7 separate regions of the Homo sapiens genome follow, and regions 1, 2, 4, 5, 6 and 7 are each linked to region 3. The links are contacts of gene promoters, found by promoter capture Hi-C in human tissues and cell types (Jung and others, 2019). All regions are on one chromosome and are shown on one strand. The core of a region is centred on a gene start or on the middle of the fragment in contact, and the rest is flanking DNA. Distances in the headings are between cores, read along the strand shown. Region 1 overlaps LOC105370839 (a long non-coding RNA gene). Region 2 has its middle 140 kb from the start of FOXB1. Region 3 holds the start of FOXB1 (forkhead box B1). Region 4 overlaps LOC105370839 (a long non-coding RNA gene). Region 5 overlaps LOC105370839 (a long non-coding RNA gene). Region 6 has its middle 150 kb from the start of BNIP2. Region 7 has its middle 140 kb from the start of FOXB1.

Region 1 (2,807 bases), core at 50-2,549, 190 kb after region 3:
CTGGAGTTGTGCCCCCAGCACCTCAATGCTGGGATTGCATCTTTTTTAGTTTTCCTCATTTTTTTTTCCATCACAGGTTCATTTCCATTCAAGCAAGGAGATGGGAAACAAATTCTAGAAATGCCTAAACTTTCCTAAAGTGAAGTCATATTCTTAACAGAGGCCAGTCTTTGATAAAACCAGAAGTTAGCTTTTGAAAGGAGGGACTCTAGGTAAAACTGTCCACAAAAAAGGTCTCTTCCTTTTCTGCTTTCTTCACTCTATTTTTTATTTTATTTCGAGGCAAGGTCTCACTCTGTCACCCAGGCTGAAATGCAGTGGCATGATTACCGCTCACTGCAGTCTCAACCTTGTGGGCACAAGCAATCCTCCCACCTCAGGCCCCTGGAGTAGCTGGCACTACAGGTGTGCACCTCCATGCCCAGCTAATTTTTGTATTTTTCGTAAAGACGGGGTTTCCCCATGTTGCCCAGGCTGGTCTCAAACTCCTGAGTTCAAGCAATCCTCCCACCTGGGCCTCCCAAAGTGCTGCGATTACAGGCATGCGCCACCATGCCCAGCCAGAATTTCATTTTTTGATTAAAAAATATTTCCATATTTTCATCCTTACCATTGATATAAAGTTCTCTACAACACACATTTAATAAGTATTATTTTTGCAATATTTGCCTCAAATTGTTGTGTTTAAGAAAATCAGATGTTACTAATAGAGCTAGTAGAGATAAGGTCACAACAGATTCTTTCTAAAGTGGTTGCACCATATGCTCTATTAGCAGCTTGGAAGAGGACCTAGTACTTCATATTGTAATGCATAATAATGGTTGATCCCCTCCCTTGCATAACACATTAGGGAATCTTTAATATTTCAAACCAAAGGAAGTAAGTTTTAAGCATCAGCAATAGGAAGATGTGGAAAGTTTAGGCAAGGGGTCTTTCAGTATTTCACATCGTGTTGTTACTTTTAGCACACTCCCATCACCTCTCTTGTTCTCCTACTCTGCACCCCATACTTTAACCAGAGTGCTCTTGAAAACCGAATCTGATCATGCCACTCCCAACTTACAACTCTTGGGTGCCTTCCCATGGTGTTAAGGAGAAACTCTAAGCCCCTTTCCCACCACAGGCTACCTGAAGAGGCCCTGTTCCCTCTCCTCTTCCTGTCTGCATTTGCCACTCTGACCTCCTTTCCATTTCTTAAAGGTGCCAAGCTCTTTCCCACCTCAGAGTCTTTGTATGTTTTCTTTGCCTGAAACACTCTTTTCCCTTCTCTGTGGTTGGCCAATTCTAAGCCATTTTTCACATCTCAGCTGACAAGTGCCTTTAATAACAAAAAATTTCCCTGGCTTCTCGTATATCTAAATCAGGACTCCCTTATGTAATCTTATTATATCTGTTGTTTTTTAAATTATAATTTACAAATGCATATTTATTTGTATGAGTATTTGTTTAATGCCCGTTTCTCTTGTTAGACTATAAACTTCATAAGGCTAAGCATCATGATCCTTTTTCACTTCTAAATTTACCAGCATAGTGCCTCTTATAGAATCAATCATTATTGCTTGACTAAATGATTGAAAATACCCTGCTCCAGACCTCAATATTTAAAGCTTCCTTTCCCAAACTTGCACAATTGCCCCAAGCCTTCCCTCTTCTTCTCTAACTTAATCTCCACTCCAATCTCTGCCCCCCTCCTTTTCCCTTTCCACACACGTTTGCATGTCTCCACCCACTTGGAAAAAGGAACTAAGGGCTGGTAACAAAAAGTATGCCTTATGATGATTACATGCATTCTAGTCTATTTCTATTACATACTGCAACATAAAATGTCATTATATGGTATACATGCAATGAAAGGTTTATTTCAAATTTTAGAAGTATGTCTTTAAAGACATCATGAGAACACCTCCATGGATTCAAGATGATTTTGGTAAGCACGAATGGTTAAATTAATAAGCCAAATAGCTACTTTGCAAGCATGGACTCAACCAAGAATTCTAAACTATAAGCTGGAAGACAATGTCACCCCATGAAGCAGCTATCAGGTTTTTAAAAGTGGTTTTGAACAGAATTGCAAGTATTATTAACTGTAACAGAATAGTTGTGTTCCCCCAGGTAGTTCTGAAAAATACTGCACATCATCTTGTCACTTAATATTCAGAGACAAATTTGGAGGTTCAAATTTGTATTTTTATCGTGTACATAAACATTTTTCCAGTCACACTAACAAGGAGGGGGAGGAGGAAGACGAGGAGGAGGGGGAGGAGGAAGACGAGGAGGAAGGGGAGGAGGAGAAGGCAACCAAAAAAGGTGGATCATCATGAAATTAAAGTCCCATGCTGAAAACTAAGTACTCTGAAGAGCACTGGTTTTTTTAACTGATAAATGTTCTTACATACATTTTTCAACCTTCTTTATTCACCATTACACGATTTCATCCAATGATTCCATGTTTCTTTTCCTTTAAGAACTCCGGGTATAACTGATGTAATTTTAGAGTTCATGCCTCTCTCCCTTCAAAACAGACTAGCAATGACTAGCAATACTCTAAAGGTTGAAATAATTGTGCCAAGAAGAGGACACAGCAGAGGCAAATTGTCCCCATTCCAAAAGCAGCTAAAGCTATAAACAGAAAACAGTGTTGAATCCAAAATCCAAGAATTTGACCTGGGGATGTTGCTAGCTGTGTTCTTCTGGGACTTTTTTATTTTGTTGCTCAGCAACCACAATCCCCATTCTTTGTTCAGACAGATGCTCCAGACCTCCAGATCCAGAGATGAGCAGGCTTGTAATTTCCTTCTTGAACTTAC
Region 2 (3,050 bases), core at 87-2,586, 140 kb after region 3:
GTACCATACTTGTTATTTATCCTTGGATTTGGCTTGCTAATATTTTGGTTAGGATTTTTGAATCTTTACTTATGGGAAAGATTTGGCTGTCATTTTCCTTTCTTATGTTTTTATCATGCCAGGTTTTGGTATCGGATCCTTCTGGCTTTATAAAAATAGTTGGGATGTTCCTTTTTTTATTCTTTGAAATATTTTGTATAAGACTGGTTTTACTTCTTCCTTAAATATTAAGTAGAACCCACTATTGAAGACAGCTGGGCCTGGTGTTTTGTAGGTAGAAAGTTTTTCATTATAAATTTATTTAAATGTTTAGTATTATACAGGTTTTTCTATTTCTTCCTGTATACATTTTGGAAAGTTGTATTTTTCTAGGAATTTTTCTACTTCATCTAAATTTTCTAACTTCTTAGCATAAAGTTGGTGGTAATATTCCACTATTATCTTTTTAATGGTGAAAAGATTTTTTTGTAACTTGCTTATTTGTATTCTTCATATTGGTTATTTAAGCAATCTTTATTTTTTCCTTGATCAGACTCACCATGGATTTATCCATTTTCATAGGTTTTCTTAAAAGAAACTTTGGGCTGTATTGATTTCCTCATGCATTTTGTTCTTATTAATTTTTGCTCTTATGAAAACTTCTTTCCTTTTACACTATCTAGTTTTAGTTTCTGACCCTTTCTTACTTCTTGAGACAGGTGCTTAGATTACTGGCTTTCATCCTTCCTTCCTTTTTAACATCTGTTTTTAGTACTATACTTTCTAAGAAGGCTGTAGCTGCCTCTCACAAGTTTTGATATGTAGTATTTTCATTATCATTCAGTTCAGAATATTCTCTAATTTCCTGTGTGATTTCTTCTTTCTTATCATATTTAGATATGTATTGCTTAATTTCCAAACATATGATAATTGGCTCACTTTCTTTGTGGTTATTTCTTCCTAGCTTAGTACGACTATGGTCGGAGAACATACTTTATATCATTTTAATACATTGAAATGTATTCATCTTTGCTTTATGGCCAAAAGTCGTCAATTTTGGGAAATTCTCACTTGCATTTAAAAAGAATGTCTAGTCTTCAGCATTGAGTTTTGTATAATATCTCTCAATTCAGTCAAGTTTGTTAAACATGTTGCTGTAAACATCTACATTCTTAATGATTTTTGGTCTGCTTGTTCTTTCTGTTACCCAGAGATGTGTTGAGGTCAGCCACCATGATGGTGGATTTATTGGTTTCTTAGACCTGCCAATGTTCTGACAGAGTTCGTATTGTTACGTTTTCCAGGCGAGTTGAAGCTTTTATCATAAAATGCTCCTCTTCAGTTTAGGTTGGCATGCTATATTTTTTTCTCAGACTTTTAACTTTTTCATATCCTTATATTTGAGATATGCCTTGTTTTAGCAGCATGCAGTTGGGTTTGGTCTTTGTATTGAGTCTGAAAATTTTTGTATTTTAATTGGGATATTTGTTTCATTTTTCTATAATGCAATTTCTGATATATTTGGGATTAAATACACCACCTTTCTATTTTTTTCTATTTGTACCTATTCATCTCTCTTTTTCCCTTTCTTCTTGCCTTCCACTAGATTGATTTTGTTATGATTATTCCATTTTCTCCTCCTTTGGCTTGGGAAAGTTATACATTCTATTACTATTCTTTGTAGTTATAAATTATTTTTATGAATTCTTTTACTATTCTTTCAGTGGTTCTCCTGAGATTATAAAATGCATTCTTAATTTATCAAAGTCTAATACAAATCAGTATTTTCACCACTTCCTTGACTAGGCAAGGCTTTAGAACTTGTATGGTATGGCTATTACATATTTTACTTCTCTCTATACATAAATTTCATCCAATAGTATTATTGTTATAATTGTTTTATACTATCAATATCTATTTAGATTTAGTTACATGTTTACCATTTCTGTTCTTCATTCTTTGTCCATTTGCAATCTTCTATTTGGTATCATTCCTTCCTGCATGAAGAACATCTTTATTATTTCCTTTAGTATAGGCCTAAATTACCAGTTTATTTCCTGGCTGAAAATATTTTTGTTTCACCTTCTTTTTGGAGGGTCTTTTTACTGGGTATAAATGTCTAGGCACTTTCATAATAATATTCATTTATCTTCCAGGTTCTAATTTTTTTTCTTTTTTTGAGACAGAGTCTTGCTCTATTGCCCAGGCTGGAGTGGAGTGGTACAATTTTGGCTCACTGCAACGTCTGCCCCGCGGGTTCAAGCAATTCTTGTGCTTCAGCCTCCGTGTAGCTGGGACTACAGGCGCATGACACCACGCCCTGCTAATTTTTACGTTTTTTGTAGAGACAGGGTTTTGCCATGTTGGCCAGGCTGGTTTCGAACTCCTGACCTCAGGTGATACGCCCACCTCAGCCTCCTAAAGTGTTGGGATTACAGGCATGAGCCACCGCACCTGGCCTGATTTTGTTCTGTTGAGAGTCTGTCAGTGTTTTTGAAGACTATCTTTTCTTTTGCTCTTAAGTCTTTATCTTTGATTTTATTTATTTATTTGTTTTATGGAGTCTCACTCTGTCACCCAGGCTGGAGTACAATGGCGCAATCTCGACTCACTGCAACCTCCATCTCCCAGGTTCAAGCGATTCTCCTGCCTCAGCCTCCCTAGTAGCTCGGACTACAGGTGCCCATCACAATGGCTGGCTAATTTCTGTATTTTTAGTAGAGATGGGGTTTCACCATGTTGGCCAGGCTGGTCTCAAACTCCTGACCTCAAGTGATCCACCCACCTCAGCCTCCCAAACTGCTGGGATTACAAGTGTGCACCAAGCCCTGCTAATTTTTGTATTTTTAGTAGAGGCAGGGTTTTGCCATGTTGGCCAGACTGGTCTCGAATTCCTGACCCTCAGGTGATCCACCTGCCTTGACCTCCCAAAGTGGTGGGACTACAGGCATGACCCACCATCCCCGGCCCTTTCCAAATTTTTTAATCTTGCTTTTTAATTTCCTTGAATGTTCTGAGCACAGTTATTTCAAAGTCCTTGTTTTATATTCTGTTGTCTAGAGCCTCTGTTA
Region 3 (3,126 bases), core at 4-2,503:
TAATGATTCATTTAACCCTTCCAAGGCGAATCCGAACCGAAGGGAGCCTGCTGCTCGCACCAGGCGGAGTGACCCAAGGCACATTCCCCGCTCCCCAAGAAGGAAAACTCTATGGTTCTTTCCCCAAGTTGTAGAAGATACTGCTGTCTTAGTGGGATCGCAGGCGGCTTTTGCTACACTCTAAATCCTAAATAAGTTCTCCATACCAAAAAAAGCGGCAGTTGGGGGATGGGGGGTGGGAGGTTGGGGGGGTGGGAGGGCTGGGAAGGGGAGTTCCGGGTGTAAAATGAAAACTTCCAGGATGTGCCTGAGTCCTAAAGTTTCAAACCACCTGGGAAAAGCGAGAGCCCCTGAGGCTTACCTGGTGATAAACTGTGTCAAACAAACTCAGGCCCTCCCCAGGTCCGCACAACATTTGCCCCAACAGCTCCTGAGCCTCCATCCTGTGTCCAACCAAATTCCCGGAGGACTTTTAAAGCAAATACCTGGACTCTTCGCCCAGATACACTATTTTAATTTTTAAAAATTTGGTCAATACAGTTACATTCAAAATGGGTTCTTACATGGGGATGTCCAATCACATTTTGAAAGTATTTGTAAACCCCATCACTTTTTCAAAGCTACACACTAACTATACAAAGCTGAAGCAGCTGCATAGGAAAGTCAAGTCAAATTTCGACCTAACTCTCCGGGGACTGGGGGGCAAGGGTGTGTTTTCATTATTATAACCCATGCAACCAACCCCGGGTAGTGCTAAGCGCAGGAAAAGGGTCGGCTTCAGGGGAAAGCCGTGCCTAAAGTTACCTAACGATACAAACCGGATACAACGCAGAGGAAACAGAATACCCCAGCCAAGCAATTTCCATGTCAAACATCATCCGCGCGGCTGCTCCATCTGTGAACGTGAGTGGTCGCCTGGCTCCCTCTTCCGCGGCGGCCGCTTCCTCATACCTTCACACGGCGCACACCGGCCGGCGCGTCCAGCTGCCTGCCCAGTGGCCGAGGCTCTTCCCCCTCGCCCAGTCTTGAGCTGGAAGTGATTCCTATTGGCCAAGGTGTCCATGTAAATAGGTGTGAAAGAAACCAGAGCTGGCCGGGCTCTCCCTTCTCGCTCAGTCCCCTCCCTCTGCAGCCCCCGCTCCCCCTCCTCTTCCTCCTCCTCCCAAGGCGATTGTCATATGATAGCTAAGAAGTGGCACATTAATGAAGCGCCGCTACAGGGGTCTTTTCTGCTCCTGTCACCGCTTAAAACTATCAGATGGTTCGAGGGAGGACATGGAGGCAGCCACCTAGCTCAGCGGAGACGCGGAGCCCACAGCAGCGCCCTCCGGAGCCCTAACACGTCGCTGCCACCATCCGCGCCGGGACTCCGCAGCCGAGCTCGGCCGCCCGCAGGACGCTCCAGGAGCGTCGCGGACCGGGCGGCACGGGACGCTGCGGGGCTGAGCTCAAGAGCCCAGGTTCGCGCCGAGTCCAACCGGACCCGGACGCTGCGCGCGGAGTGCGCGTCGAGTGCGCGCCGAGAGAGAAGCGGCGCGCAGCGGCGTCCTCCCGGATGCGGACGCGCAACTTGAAGCAACTTTAAGGTGAGCAGCTCTCTGTTCCGTCCCTGCCCCCTATTCTGGCCCCAGTACCGACTTACTTCCCGGCTATCCTCGCGCCGTTCGCCGGCTTCCCCTCCCGCGCCCACTAAGCCCGCAAAGTTGCTGGCGAAAGAGTCCGGGCGCTGGCTGATCGAGCGCCGCAGGCCCCACCCCCGACCCCCGAAGTCTGTTACTCGGTCTGGCTGACCCCGCCGGTGTCTCTGTGCATCCATGCTACCTTTCCCTATTACCCACCCCCTTCCCAGATCCGAGCAGTCCGCCGGCCCGCGCGGACCCAGAGCAAGAAGAGGGCGAGGAAGAAGATGCCTCGGCCCGGCCGCAACACGTACAGCGACCAGAAGCCGCCCTACTCGTACATCTCGCTGACCGCTATGGCCATCCAGAGCTCTCCCGAGAAGATGCTGCCGCTGAGCGAGATCTACAAGTTCATCATGGACCGCTTCCCCTACTACAGGGAGAACACGCAGCGCTGGCAGAACAGTCTGCGCCACAACCTCTCCTTCAACGACTGCTTCATCAAGATCCCGCGGCGGCCGGACCAGCCAGGCAAGGGCAGCTTCTGGGCGCTGCACCCAAGCTGCGGGGACATGTTCGAGAACGGCAGCTTCCTGCGGCGCCGCAAGCGCTTCAAGGTGCTTAAGTCCGACCACCTGGCGCCCAGCAAGCCAGCCGACGCGGCGCAGTACCTGCAGCAGCAGGCCAAGCTGCGGCTCAGCGCGCTGGCGGCCTCGGGCACGCACCTGCCACAGATGCCCGCCGCCGCCTACAACTTGGGCGGCGTGGCGCAGCCCTCGGGCTTCAAGCACCCCTTCGCCATCGAGAACATCATCGCGCGGGAATACAAGATGCCTGGGGGGCTGGCCTTCTCCGCCATGCAGCCGGTGCCCGCTGCCTACCCGCTCCCCAACCAGTTGACTACCATGGGCAGCTCGCTGGGCACCGGCTGGCCACACGTGTATGGCTCCGCCGGCATGATCGACTCGGCCACCCCCATCTCCATGGCGAGTGGCGACTACAGCGCCTACGGCGTGCCGTTGAAGCCGCTGTGCCACGCGGCGGGCCAAACGCTGCCCGCCATCCCCGTGCCCATTAAGCCCACGCCGGCCGCCGTGCCCGCGCTGCCTGCGCTGCCAGCGCCCATCCCCACCTTGCTCTCGAACTCGCCGCCCTCGCTCAGCCCCACGTCCTCGCAAACAGCCACCAGCCAAAGCAGCCCCGCCACCCCCAGCGAAACGCTCACCAGCCCGGCCTCCGCCTTGCACTCGGTGGCGGTGCACTGACCCGCAGGAGCCCACGCCCCCTCTCGTTCTCCTCCCCACCACCTCACTCGCCTTCCCTGGCTCCCAGTCCTGCCGGCCCCCACCTGGGACCGCCACCCTAACTTGTTCATTTCACCTTCGGCCAACCCGCCTTGCCCCAAGAGAACTTTGTTTTGGACCCAGGAGACCAAACACAAACTTGCAGATGGGCCGAGAGGCGCGTGGGAGTTGTCCTCGCCCCCACATCAAGGAAGGCCGGGGCC
Region 4 (3,224 bases), core at 353-2,852, 230 kb after region 3:
TCAGTTTGTTTGCTTGATTTTGTTTCCTCAATAGCGTAGATACACGACAATAAATTTTACCCGAGGTTTCAACAAACCCCATCTCTGCTACTGTCATATGATTTACCCTCGTTATTATAAGACTTAAATCTGAATATTAGTATAATAGAGTGTTACCCGTAGTCTTTTAGTTTCTTATTTCACATTTTAACATCTAAAAAATCACTACAAAAACTGATTCAGTGAGAAGCCTAAGCTAAGATGGTGTACTCTCATAAGTAGGCACTGTCGGTTCTAATGGGAATTCTATTTCTGGGTCTCATTGCCTTTTCACAATTTCCATAGCACAGGCTTTGTGATTCCCATGGTGCACACGAAAAACTCACCCTAGAGAAGTAGATGTTCTAGCTCAAGATTCCACAGCTCGTCAATAATGAAGCCAGAACCAGAGTCTGGGTTTCTAGATTGCTGCATGGTCATGACCTGCTCCAAAACCTCAAACTACCCACCCACATCTTTAAACTGCTGGCCCAGAGTGTGGGTCACTCCTACTGTGGTATCATTCCTTATCCAGGCTCTACTTCAATCTTGGCTCCCAGAACATTCCATATAGCCTGTGCTTGGCAATCTGCCCAGGTTGTCTTATCTATTTTCTCCAAATCATAAACTCCTCAACTAATGCTTGCATGTGCAAAGATATGCATTGGAAGAAAGTAGGAGGATAAATCATCCCTAACCACTGCCAACAGGTTCAACGAATTAAACCAATGTATGTTAATTGAAAAATCGTTCTTTATAAATATAGATAAACTTTAAAAGACACGATTAAGTACTTTTTAATAGCTTTAAAAAAATCGCCTTTACTTTAAATGACCTTTAGATGTATTTTTTGTTCTATTGATTTTACTATTTTAACTGCAGATACATCTTTTAATTTACTCCAAGGGAATTAACCGACAACCTTCCATTTTCTGTTTGGGTCTCATTTTAAATGCCAGAACTACCCCTAATGTAGCTATCATCAAAACTTAAAACTCCACAGTTTAAGAAACAAAGTTCTGACAACTGGTTCCACTGTGGGGGGAAATGGAACTTTTTATTCTGATACTATAATTAGACCAAGAAACTGAAAGCACACTCCAAAATAAGAATTTGCTGCTATGACTAGTCAATGTCATTTATGCTCAGGGAAGAGAGAGAGGTGTAATAAACTTTGACAACTTATTTGCAACATTTTATATTTAACATCATTATATCTACATTTTGAAAGCAGCACATCAGACTTTTGTTCTCTAAAATCGAAGCTGAGCAGAATTGCAAGTAGAAATAAGTGACCAACTCCAAAGCTGAGGACCAGCCCCTGTGATGTGGATGTAACCCTTTGAGAGCACAGCATTCTGGAAAGATGACAGGCACGATGTAGGGAAGCCAGAGATCACCTCCAATCCTCCTTTCAGCTCTTGGTGGGATATTCAGCTGGATCTGAATACTGACACTAGGAAGATGAATGAACAAGAGAGAAGTACACACATTTCATTCATGTTGCATGTCCATGGGGATCTGCATAAGAGAGTAAAGTCTGAAGAAGTGACCAAAGCAAGATGGAGACAAAGAGCAATAAATTTGAGGAAAAAATGGCAAGGCAAAAAAAAAAAAAAAAAGAAAAGAAAATCTGGCTAAGGATAGCAAATTTTCTAGGGGAATCACTAGGAGATATAGCAGGGGTGAAATAGGTGGAAGATAGCGTTGCTTCAGGAAGTATGTTAATTCAGGGTCCATTGCAGCCTCCAATCACCAGTCTGTGGGTAATAGGAATATTTTCTCACCATGGTATAGTGAGGACTCCCCTCCTAGAGGAATCTTTGTCCCTTGCTGCATGCAGGAAGAGACAGCTCAGCTCACCCTCTCTGAAACAATTTCTCCAATGTTTTCAACTTGAAATAATCAATATACTAATCTGGCATATTTGGGATGGCACATCCTTCACTCCTTCAGTGGTAAATAAACCACTGGATGAAATCAGGGCTGGCAACCTTCTGAAAGGGGTGTACTGAAGAGCCGACTCCTCTCCTCTCCCTCTGGCATGCTGTTCCCTTGCCAACCACATCTTTGCGAAGTAGAAGAGGCCTATATCCACCTGCCAATTGTCACGTGGGAAGGGCCACTGACCCTCATGGGCATGGTGGCCCAGCCACCCAAGTGTGTGTTGAAGAGCCATGGCTTATGCACCATCTCAGGCAGTGACCAGACAGGCTCACTCTCACCAACTCTGCAACCATCGATCAAAGAAGTGGGATTCATCAGGTATCCTCCAAGATAATTCTGATGACATAAGAAGTATTGGTAGAATAAAATAATGAGACCAAAAGAAAGAGAAAAGGTTAACAGACCAGACACCAGAGAAATTAATGATTATGTTCTTCCCTTTCTTCCCCTCCTATTAAGAAAAAAAAAATTTAAAAACCAGATAGGGGAAATAGTGAGCAAATTTTCTAATTGGGAGTGGAGATGAGGAAGTGGGGGAGACATGGAATCATCATAGCAGACTAGGAAAGAAAGGGAAGAAAAAGAGAAACCATATTTAATGTAATGTGCAGAAGTAGCCATTTATTTACACACCCTTTCCATTTAGAAAAGATGTGTTTCGGCCTCTGGCTGAATGTACATACTAATTAGTGCTAATGAATATAAATGATACTCACAACTCAACCTGTTTACAAAGTCCCCCCATGTCATTCAGGGAAGAATTGAGTTTGGAAATGAGATATGTGTTGTGTTCTTGGGCTTGACGATGACCTAGAGGTTACCGAAGCTAAGGACAATGAAATCAATTAGCAATTAACAAGGCAAGAAAGAGTCAAACCCACAAAATTCAGTACCTCCAGCGGTAGGCACTGTTACAGAGGAAGACACACTCTTCCCATAGGGTAACATGTTTAGCTCGGCACAACCAGCAGCTGTTGAGGGTGGGAGTTCAGGGAACAACTTTAAAATCATGAGAGGTCTACCGGAAAAAAAAAAAAAAAAGTAAAATAAGATGAAAAGAAGTATGCTTTATTAAGCTTAGGGAGACATTACCCTACAGGAAAAGGAATAAACTACAGGGCTGTTTGGTGTTCATATGCCAAGCTGAAGAAGTATCACCCATACTGAGGTCATATCACTCTTCAGAGAGGGCGTGGAAGCTCTGCACCCTGCCGCCCCAGCCCCCATGCATCTCTTCCATTTGGCTGCCCCTGAGTCAT
Region 5 (3,187 bases), core at 228-2,727, 240 kb after region 3:
CATACCCAGTGAAATAATCCATCAAAGGTGAATAAGAAATAAAGACTTTCTCAGAACAAAAAAAGAGGGAATTTGTTGCCAGTAGACCTGCAAGAAGTGTTAAAAGGAATTATTTAGAAAGAAGGAAAATTATATAGATCAGAAGTTTGAATCTACATAAAGCAAAAGAAAGAACATTAGAAAAGGAACTAATGAAGGTAAAATAAAATGTGTTGTTTTTCTTATTCTTAACTGGCCTAACAGATAACTGTCCAAATAATAGCAATATATTTAATAATTATAGCTTATGGACAAGTAAAATGGATGACATTAATGGTATAAAGAGATGGGAGGAAGAAATTGGGAATATTTTGTTATATGGCACTTACACTACTTGTGAAATGGTATAGTATTATTTGAAAGTAGACTTAGATTATGTAAATAAACATCACAAATGCTAGAGCAACCACTAAAAAATGTTAAGACTTATAATCAATATGCTAAAAAAAGGAGAGCAATGGAATAATAAAATGCTCCATTAAAACCAAGGCAATAAGAAAAAAGAAGCAAAGAACAAATATAAAGCAATTACAAAAATGGTAGATACTAACCCAACTATATCAATAATAGTTTTAAGAATGAATGGTCTAAATAAACCAGTTAAAAGACAGAGACTGTCAATGTGGCTGAAAAACAAGACCCAACTGTATGCTATCTATGAGAAATCCACTGTAAATATAAAGACACAGATAGGGTAAAAGTAAAGGGATGGAAAGAGATATGCCATGTTAGAACTAATCAAAAGAAGCTATAGTGGCTATATTAATTTCAGAAAGCAGACTTCAGAGCAAGAAAATTATCAGGATGAAGGGTATTTCATAATGTCAAAGCGATCAGTTCTGCAACAAGATACACGGTGCTTATATGCACCTAACAAGAAAATGTCAAAATAGGTGAGACAAAAACTGATAAAACTGCAGGAAAATATAGGGAAACCCATTATTATAATTGAAGACTTCATCACACCTGTCTCTATAATTGACAGATCCAGCATGTAGAAAATTAGTAAAGATAGAGTGAACAGAATAGCACCATCAATATGAATTGACATTTAGAGGATAGTTTATCTAACAACAGAATATATAGTCTCAACCTAGAGCATACAAAAAGATGACCACATTTTGGATCATAAAATACACCTGTTTCAAAGCTGGCCTTTGGGATTGGATCCACTCAGGACAAGACCAAGGATCACATCCTTCTCAGGCAGCCAGTGTGACAATTCTACAGAGCATTTTAAGCAAAGCCAACTAAATTCATCATTAAGTAAGATATAGGAAAACTCCAATTAAACAAAGTGCTTCAGAAATAGGTTGTCCTTAGATGTCCAAGACTACAGGATTAAATAAATGATGGGACATCCAAATAGTGCAATACACAAGAGTTATTAAAAATCATGTTCAAGAATGTAATTAACATTGGAAATGCTGTTATGTAAAATCTTATATGAAAAACTGATCAAAAAAAGTAGGAACAATTTTTTAACCTATAATACAGATGAGAAAAAGACATCAAAAAGCTATCAAGATTATTTCTGTATAATTTTTTCTTCTTTTCTAAATTTTCTCAACTTTGTACAATAAACATTTATTACTTTGATGTGAGAAAAATATTGTGATTGGAAATTGATTAACCTGTTTAATTATATTTTTTAATGAATGAAAAATTAAGTAAAATACTTTTGGATGGTTTAAGTATTTTAGTGCATACTGTGAACTAAAGCACAACACAAACCCAGTGGTCTGATTATATTCAGTGAAATCAGTCAATCAACCAACCAATCCAGAAAAGCACCCCTGGCATATTTAAGCCTATTAAAAACAAAAACAAAACCACTTGTAAATTTAAGACAAATGAAAAAAATTGCATCTTTTCTTCTTATGTAAGCATCTCATAGGGCCTACAGCTTATAAAGCAAAACATCATTAATCATCACCATAGAACCACGAATGCAGGTATAGGGGGTTTAAAATCCACTGATTCAGGTATCATAGCTTGGAACAGCATTTAGTGACTGAACTCCTGGATTACATATCTTGCATATGTGGTATTTTTTTCAAAAGTTCAGTGCAACACAAATTCCAAAGAGCTCAGCTCTTTGGATTCCTGTTATAATCCTGTTGTACTCATTTTTGGGGTGCCATTTCAAACATGCAAGTTTTACTTAAGTTCTTACACTCATATTTAGATTTAAAAAATTATTCATTTATTGGTTTTAGTAGGTAAAATAGTCAGGTGGTTCAAATATCAAAGAGCACTAAAGTGCATAGTCTGAAAAGCCTCCCTGCCATCCATATACCCATCTACACAGTTCCCATCCTTCTCCAACGAACAACCACTATTGTTAGTTTCTGGTTTATCCTTCCAGAGACTTTAAATATATATATACAAGCACAGTATATGATTTCCTTCCTCTATTTTATCCAAAATATTATGCTATTATTCACCTTCCTTTTATTACCTAACAGTGAAACATATCTTAGAGATCTTTTAAAATCCTAATATAAACGATATGTTATATGGCACTTACACTACTTGTGAAAGTATTTACTAGTAGAATGAGAACGACATTCTCATTCTTTTTTACAGTTGCATAGTATTGTTTTGTAGGAAGTTATCATAAGTATTAAGCAGTCCCCTATGGATAGATGTCCAAGTTTTCCAATCTTCTGACAAACAACTCTGCAATAAGTTATCTATTACATAAATTATACAAATGCATAGGTATATCTATAAGGTAAATTGCTAGATGTTGAAGTGCTGCATAAAAGGGAATATTTTTAATTGTCATTCCATTGCCAAATTGCCCTCCAGAGGATTTTCACCAATTTATACTCCCACAAGCAATTTATGAAAGTGATCATTTCTCTACATCCTTGCCCAGGACGTGTTAGCAAACTTTTAGCCTTTGCCTAAGTGGTAAAAAAAAAAAAAAAAAAAAAAAAGATTACTACAGTGCAGTTTTAATTTACCTGTCTCTTCTATTATGTGCAAGGTGGAGCATCTTTGCATGTATTTAAGTTTTATCTGTGGCTCCTTTTGGTAAACTTTCTAATAAGTATTTTGTTATTGACATTTAGGATCTCTTTATATTCTAAAGAAGATAGTTCTTTGCAATAGGAGCTTAAAATATTTTTCCCAATTTATC
Region 6 (3,072 bases), core at 488-2,987, 160 kb before region 3:
TCTTTTCTAATTGTCTATAGTGCACCCCGTGTGAGACCCATGCCAAGGGAGCTTCTGTCATTTTCTAAAGAAAGGACAGTAGAATGCAAACTCCCTAAATGCTCACCAAGCATTTGAGGACTTTGCATTCTCCTGCCCTTTCAAAGTTTTGTTGTTACTATTTTAGGGAAATTTAGATTTCCAGGCCTACATCTGGCTAGTCTTGCTTAATGGAATGTAAAATCCTGTTTCTAAGGTGATTATGATTATTCAAGATCTTTGTTCATTAAATGGAGGATCTTGATCTTAGAAAGAAAGAAAGAGCCTGGGTAAGGAGGTTCATGCCTATAATCACAACACTTTGGGAAGCCAGGGCAGGAGGATTACTTGATCCCTGGAGTTTGAGACCAGCATGGACAACATGACGAAACCCCATCTCAACAAAAAATACAAAAATTAGCCAGGTGTGGTGGTGCACACCTGTAGTCCCAGCTACTTGGGAGGCTGAGGTTGGAGAATCACTTGAGCCTGGAAGGTTGAGATTGCGCCACTGTACTCCAGCCTGGGCAACAGAGTAAGACACTGATTCAAAAAAAAAGGAAAGCAAAGAAAAGAAAAGGAAAAAGGAAGGAAGGGAGGAAAGGAGAAAGGGAAGCTTTTTCCAAAGCACAAAGCTGTCCTCAAGTATCCTAACATTCTGTCATGGAGTATCTTGAGGATTGAAATGGATCTCATGGGAGGAGCAGTGGTGAATCTATGGAACGTTTTCGTAAGAATCATCGCTGGGATGATTAGCTGTCAGAATGTTACCAGTATGTGCAATCACCTTTGAAAAAATACTGGAATATGAGGTGAATTGCATAAATACTCAATAAATGCATAAATAATTACTAATATTTAATATTTTAAAATAATTGTTTTAACTTGGCATCAAGCATCATTACTATTGACTTTACCTGGTAGAAATTTCAAAAAGACCCAGATAACTTGAAAATCGGCCTTAGACCCCAGCCAGCTATCATCATGTGATATACATGGGTCACCATTTTCCCTTTGTTAAACAAGAAGCTCCTCCTGGGCTCTTCCACTCTCTTTTCATGTCTTTTCCACTTTTGCATCGTTGGTCAGTGTCCAGTACAGAATTAAAAACTTAATAAATGGTTACTGAGTGAATGAATAACATGTGAAAAGAACCATGAGTCTGAGATTCCAGTTCCAAAATGGCTGCTGAGTTTCTATGCCATTTTGAGAAGGTCACTTTACGTTTCTGGGCCTCAGTTTCCTTATTAATCAATGGAAGGGATAGTTGGCTGACATTAATAGTAGCTAACATTGACTAATCTTTTCTTATGTGCCTGGCATTGTTCTCATTGCTTGCCTGCATTAGCACATTTAATCTTCACGGTGCAATACCCAGGGATTCTCTCATTCAGGTCACCTCACACACAGCTCTGGAAAAAGCACCACGCAGGTGCCCCAGGGGTCTGTAGGAGTGTTTGTAGGAGGAGCCAAGCATACATTGGTCTCAACCAGGTCACTTTTGAGCATGGAGCCTTATGCTTTAGATTAGCCAACTGGAAAAATTCTTCGGTTTGCCTATCTCAAGTTGGCTTAAGCTTTCTCTTATTCAGTAAAAATTACAGGTAGCAGAAGTGTGTGGGGAGAGCGGTGGGAGAAAATGGCAAAGAAGAGAAAGATGGCCATAGCTGGCCTCTGTTTCATTCTGCTAGGGTGAAGTGAGGCAGAAATCCAGAAATCCACCTGACAGAGACTCCACTTGGCCCCCTGTGATCCAAGTGCATAACCAACCCGTGTAATTGCCAGCCCTAAGATGAATTACTTCACCTGCTCTCTTGCAGGCGATGCCCTCCAGGCTAACAGGTGTGGGACGTGGCCAGAAGGGATGTGGATTAAAGAAGATGCCATTCCCAAGCTGCCTTGAGGAGGCCAGACCTTGGGCTCCATCCAGCCATCTAGGAGAGTCAGGCAGGGCCAGCTTCCCTCTGACTGGGTGGTCTTGAATCTAAGCTATGAATCAAGAATAATTTTTGCCTAATGTGAGAAGAGTCTGCATCCTTGAGGATTCCAGAAACGTTCTGTTTCTTCCCAGTCCTGTATCGTTTCCTTAACAGCCTCCTAAAACATGCTTGAGGCTGCTGGGAGAAACAGTGGGGGGAACACGTCTTTCTTTCACAGAGCTTTCAACTAATTGAGAAGATATTTGTATAGTGACTTCACTGGGAAGCCTGCTGTTGGAATACTGAACAAATTTCACACTCATTGCTTCAATATTTGCCATGAAATTCTTCCAAATTCTAATGAGAGACTGTCACTCTCCTCAGGCCCCTCTTTCATGGATGAAGAATAAATATATTTCTTCTTTTCCTCTATTTACTGTACCAGAAGCTATTTTGGAGAGAGCCAAGGTTAGTTGTCAGTCACCAAGATGCAGATCTGGATGAAAGTGGATGATTGTGGTACGTACTGGTAATAGCTATGACACCATGGGCAAATTTCTTACTATCTCGAAATAACATTTTCCTCACCTATGAACTCACTCCAGTACCTTTCACAATTAAAAAATAATGAAAAAAGAAAACACCATAGAGGGTTGTTTTGAAGATTAAACAAGCTATGCATGGAAAGCATTTAGCCCAGTGCCCAGTACACAGAAAACAGTTGATAAATCATAGTTGTTATTATTAATATCTTCAACTTCATCCAGCCTCTCATTCCTGCTGGCGTGGGACCTGGTGGCTTGGATGAGAAGGTTCAAAATGTCAAAGTCAAACTGAAATGGATTTGCTTCCCATATTAAGTATAAACACCTCAAATGGAATTACACCTTGTAGAACATATTTAGAAGATAAGTTAGTACATTGCTATGGTTTGAATATTTGTGTCCCTCCAGGATTTGTGTTAAAACATAATCCCCAAAGAGATAGTATTAAGGTGTGGAGTTTTTAGGAGGTGATTAGGTCACAAAGGATCCATGAACGGGATTGTGCCCTTTTAAAAGGGTTGAGGGAGGCTGTTTGGCCCCTTTTCCTGCCTTCCGCCCCTCCTATCATGTGAGGACACAGTGTTCATCCT
Region 7 (3,142 bases), core at 343-2,842, 140 kb before region 3:
TGTGGTGACAGCCACTGAACAATCTCCTAAGATTGGAATCTCAAATGCCTACAACAGCCAAGCTTTTCTCAAGACATCAGGAAGAGGCGGGGATCATGGCAGCATGGCCTGCAAATGCCCCTTCTGAAAGGACCCACCCGTAGGATTGGTAGCTCCTGTCACTATGGGCAATTGCATGCCTAGTTTGCAGAGCTTTGGATTTCTTCAAAGGATGCCAGAAACAAGGATTTTTATGTGAACTCTCCCAATTTAAAAAGATGGCAAGAACTGGGCGTGGTGGCTCACGCCTGTAATCCTAGCACTTTGGGAGGCTGAGGTGGGCGGATCATTTGATGTCAGGAGTTCAAAACCAGCCTAGCCAACATGGTGAAACCCCGTCTCTACTAAAAATACAAAAATTAGCTGGGTGTGGTGGCGCACGTCTGTGATCCCAGCTACTTGGGAGGCTGATGCAGGAGAATCGCTGGAACCTAGGAGGCAGAGTCTGCAGTGAGCTGAGATGGCGCCACTGCACTCCAGCCTGTGCAACAGAGTGAGACTCCATCTCAAAAAAAAAAAAAAAAAAAAGATGGCAACTATTAAAAAGATTTTTTTTCAATTGTGTGAGCCAAATAAAATATGTCCATGAGCCTGATTTGGTCTGAGCCTTCTGCCTTACAACTTCTGGTCTGGAGGATATGTCGTACCAGAGATGATTTTGCATAAGAAGTACCTCAGGCCAGCCTTCACAATAGTGAAGACACAGCTAAATCACTCCTTCCACACAGCCAGTGAAGAAATGGCCTGTCCACTTTGACAGTCTCTGTCATTTAATAGTAGTATTTGAAGAAAGGAAACGATGACCAAAAAATCCATATTAAAATATGTCTCAATTTCAAAATTGATGATCAGAGAAATGAGCAAAAAGTGAGAGGAATTTTACAGTTTAACAAAATAGAAAAACTAGCAAACAAACAAAAAGGCATGGGTTGATATTAAACAAATGCCTAAGAGGAGTTCTGTTCCAACTCTCAAGGAGAGGTCCATCACAAGGTTTCCTGATGGAATTATTTTTTCCAGATACATTTCCTACTATCCATCCTTTCCACCTCATTACCATCTTGTTTCTCAGGACACTGATTTAGACATAGACCAATTTCAGCAGCATTTTATTACTAAAATCCCCCTCTTGCAAATGAGGAATTCAAATGTGGAACATAAGGCTGGGCGCGGTGGCTCACGCCTGTAATCCTAAGAATTTGGGAGGCCGAGGCAGGTGGCTCACCTGAGGTCAGGAGTTCGAGACCAGCCTGGCCAACATGGCGAAACCCCATCTCTACTAAAAATACAAAAATTAGCCAGGCATGGTGGTGGGAGCCTGTAATCCCAGCTACTCAGGAGGCTGAGGCTGGAGAATCACTTGAACCTGGGAGGTGGAGGTTGCAGTGAGCCAAGATTGCACCACTGCACTCCAGCCCGGGCAACAGAGTGAGACTCTATCTCAAAAAAATAAATTAATAAATTAATTAATTAAATTAAATTCAGTGGAACATAACCTGGTGCCCCCATTCATGCTGGCTTAGGCACCCCAAAGTAGTCTTCAGACAACCTCACTCTCTAGCAAGATGAGTGCTGTCGTGTGGAAATATGCTTTAGAGAGAAGGATTTGAATGCACTTTTTTTGCTTACGTAAACGTGCAGATGCAGGAAAATCTCATGGTGCTGTGTTGAGAAGTCAGTGCGAAGAACAAATTGTAATGAACTCACAGAAACGGGAGAGTACTTGTGGAAATCCTACATTATTAGTTTGCTGTTAATTAAAAAAAAAACTCTCTCCAACTGAACACTGCCTTGATAAAGAACCTAAATTCCAGAAGAAAAATAATCCTAGTAAAATAGCTCAGGTATATATATTTCTAAGTCTAAACACAGCCACTTTGCTGCTATGTGTGGTAGGAAGGCTGTGGTGTTATAATACATACCGGTCTTTGTCCACGGTTTCTGGCTGATAGCCATAGCCCTTATTGCAGTCTTTTGTTATAATGTTGGGTGTATGAGGCCACATGGGCAGCCTCTGACCTCCTCCTGCCCTCCTTTCATCTGCTCCAAGGCAAGACTCTACTTTTCCCCTGTCTTTCTGATTGTGGGTCCTAAGACCCTCCCATGAGAGGGTCCCACCCCTCTATACCTTGGGGAAGAAATGCTTACATCATGAAGCTTCCATAAAAACCCAAGAGGGCTGGTGTCAGTGAGCTTCTGGATAGCCGAACTGCAGGTTCCTCCAGAGGGTCCAGGGAGGGCATGGACCCTCTGGAGCCCTTCCCCCATTTCCTGCCCTAAACATCTTTTCATCTGTATCCTTTGCAATATCCTTTATAATAAACTGGTAAATGTAGGTAAGTGTTTCCCTGAGTTCTGTGAGCTGCTCTGGCAAATTATTTGAACCCAAAGAGGGGATCATGGGAACCCCAACTTGAAGCCAGTTGGTCAGAAGTTCCGGAGGCCCAGGCTTGTCACTGGTGTGTGTTAGAGGGGGCCAGTCTTGGCTGGGGACTGAACACTCAACCTGTGAGATCTGACGTCGTCTCCAGGTAGACAGTGCCAGAAATGAATTAGAGGACACCCAGCTGGTGTCCACTGCTTGGTGTGTGAGGAAAAAAAACCCACACATATAGTCACAGAAGTCTTCTCCTGTGCTGATGATTATTGTGATGTGAGAACAGAGGAAAAACATGGTTAGAGAGAGTTTTCCCTACACGGAAGCTGTCTTCTCTTTAGTTCGTCGGGTAGAAGCAAAGAATTCCAAGTCTGGGCAATTTGTTATCAAGTGCGACTTCAGCTCAGGTCCTTGATTCTGTAGTCTGTTATTTCAGTGGCAGCAACAGTTTGATTAAAAAGGTATGGAACCCAGCTAGAGGACTTGGGTTCAATTCCCCACTCTGCTGCTTATTTGCTCTGTGACCTTGGGCAAGGCCACGCTCGTCAGGCTGTAATGGAATGGAGAATGTGTCCCAGAGGAAACTGAGGTGAAATTTCAACATCTACTCCACTCTTACAGGCTGTGTGAACCTTGGGCAAATTCCTTAAGATCTCTGAGCCTAATTTTCCTTGTCCTAAAAGTAAAGATGAAGATTTTAAAAATCACAAGAGCTGGCCGGGCACA

Evidence for each region. The method cuts DNA at HindIII sites, captures the fragments that hold promoters and counts their contacts. A contact is called where the count stands out against the background at its distance.
Region 1: a fragment that was not itself captured here is called in contact with the fragment with the promoter of FOXB1 in region 3 in 2 of the 25 tissues and cell types used here (H1 embryonic stem cells and mesendoderm cells).
Region 2: a fragment that was not itself captured here is called in contact with the fragment with the promoter of FOXB1 in region 3 in 2 of the 25 tissues and cell types used here (dorsolateral prefrontal cortex and lymphoblastoid cells).
Region 4: a fragment that was not itself captured here is called in contact with the fragment with the promoter of FOXB1 in region 3 in 2 of the 25 tissues and cell types used here (IMR-90 fibroblasts and lymphoblastoid cells).
Region 5: a fragment that was not itself captured here is called in contact with the fragment with the promoter of FOXB1 in region 3 in 2 of the 25 tissues and cell types used here (mesendoderm cells and thymus).
Region 6: a contact is called between a fragment that was not itself captured here and the fragment with the promoter of FOXB1 in region 3, in 2 of the 25 tissues and cell types used here (pancreas and spleen).
Region 7: a fragment that was not itself captured here is called in contact with the fragment with the promoter of FOXB1 in region 3 in 2 of the 25 tissues and cell types used here (aorta and dorsolateral prefrontal cortex).

The regions. Positions count from the first base shown.
Region 1 is chr15:60,193,143-60,195,949 of GRCh38, forward strand. The region is part of intron 2 of LOC105370839 (a long non-coding RNA gene); the gene reads left to right. Among named protein-coding and RNA genes, the nearest start is that of FOXB1, 190 kb to the left of the region's middle. The HindIII fragment of the contact is 7,201 bases long and covers 1-2,807 here.
Region 2 is chr15:60,143,367-60,146,416 of GRCh38, forward strand. No RefSeq gene overlaps it. Among named protein-coding and RNA genes, the nearest start is that of FOXB1, 140 kb to the left of the region's middle. The HindIII fragment of the contact is 4,675 bases long and covers 1-3,050 here.
Region 3 is chr15:60,003,058-60,006,183 of GRCh38, forward strand. FOXB1 (forkhead box B1) reads left to right here and starts at 1,254. Exons shown (of 2, transcript NM_012182.3): 1 at 1,254-1,586; 2 at 1,850-3,126. The coding sequence starts at 1,907. The coding sequence ends at 2,884. RefSeq lists an enhancer at 935-1,450. The HindIII fragment of the contact is 14,342 bases long and covers 1-3,126 here.
Region 4 is chr15:60,227,711-60,230,934 of GRCh38, forward strand. The region is part of intron 2 of LOC105370839 (a long non-coding RNA gene); the gene reads left to right. Among named protein-coding and RNA genes, the nearest start is that of ANXA2, 170 kb to the right of the region's middle. The HindIII fragment of the contact is 7,970 bases long and covers 1-3,224 here.
Region 5 is chr15:60,245,268-60,248,454 of GRCh38, forward strand. All of the region lies in intron 2 of LOC105370839 (a long non-coding RNA gene), which reads left to right. Among named protein-coding and RNA genes, the nearest start is that of ANXA2, 150 kb to the right of the region's middle. The HindIII fragment of the contact is 7,723 bases long and covers 1-3,187 here.
Region 6 is chr15:59,841,934-59,845,005 of GRCh38, forward strand. No RefSeq gene overlaps it. Among named protein-coding and RNA genes, the nearest start is that of BNIP2, 150 kb to the left of the region's middle. The HindIII fragment of the contact is 6,288 bases long and covers 1-3,072 here.
Region 7 is chr15:59,862,977-59,866,118 of GRCh38, forward strand. No RefSeq gene overlaps it. Among named protein-coding and RNA genes, the nearest start is that of FOXB1, 140 kb to the right of the region's middle. The HindIII fragment of the contact is 4,657 bases long and covers 1-3,142 here.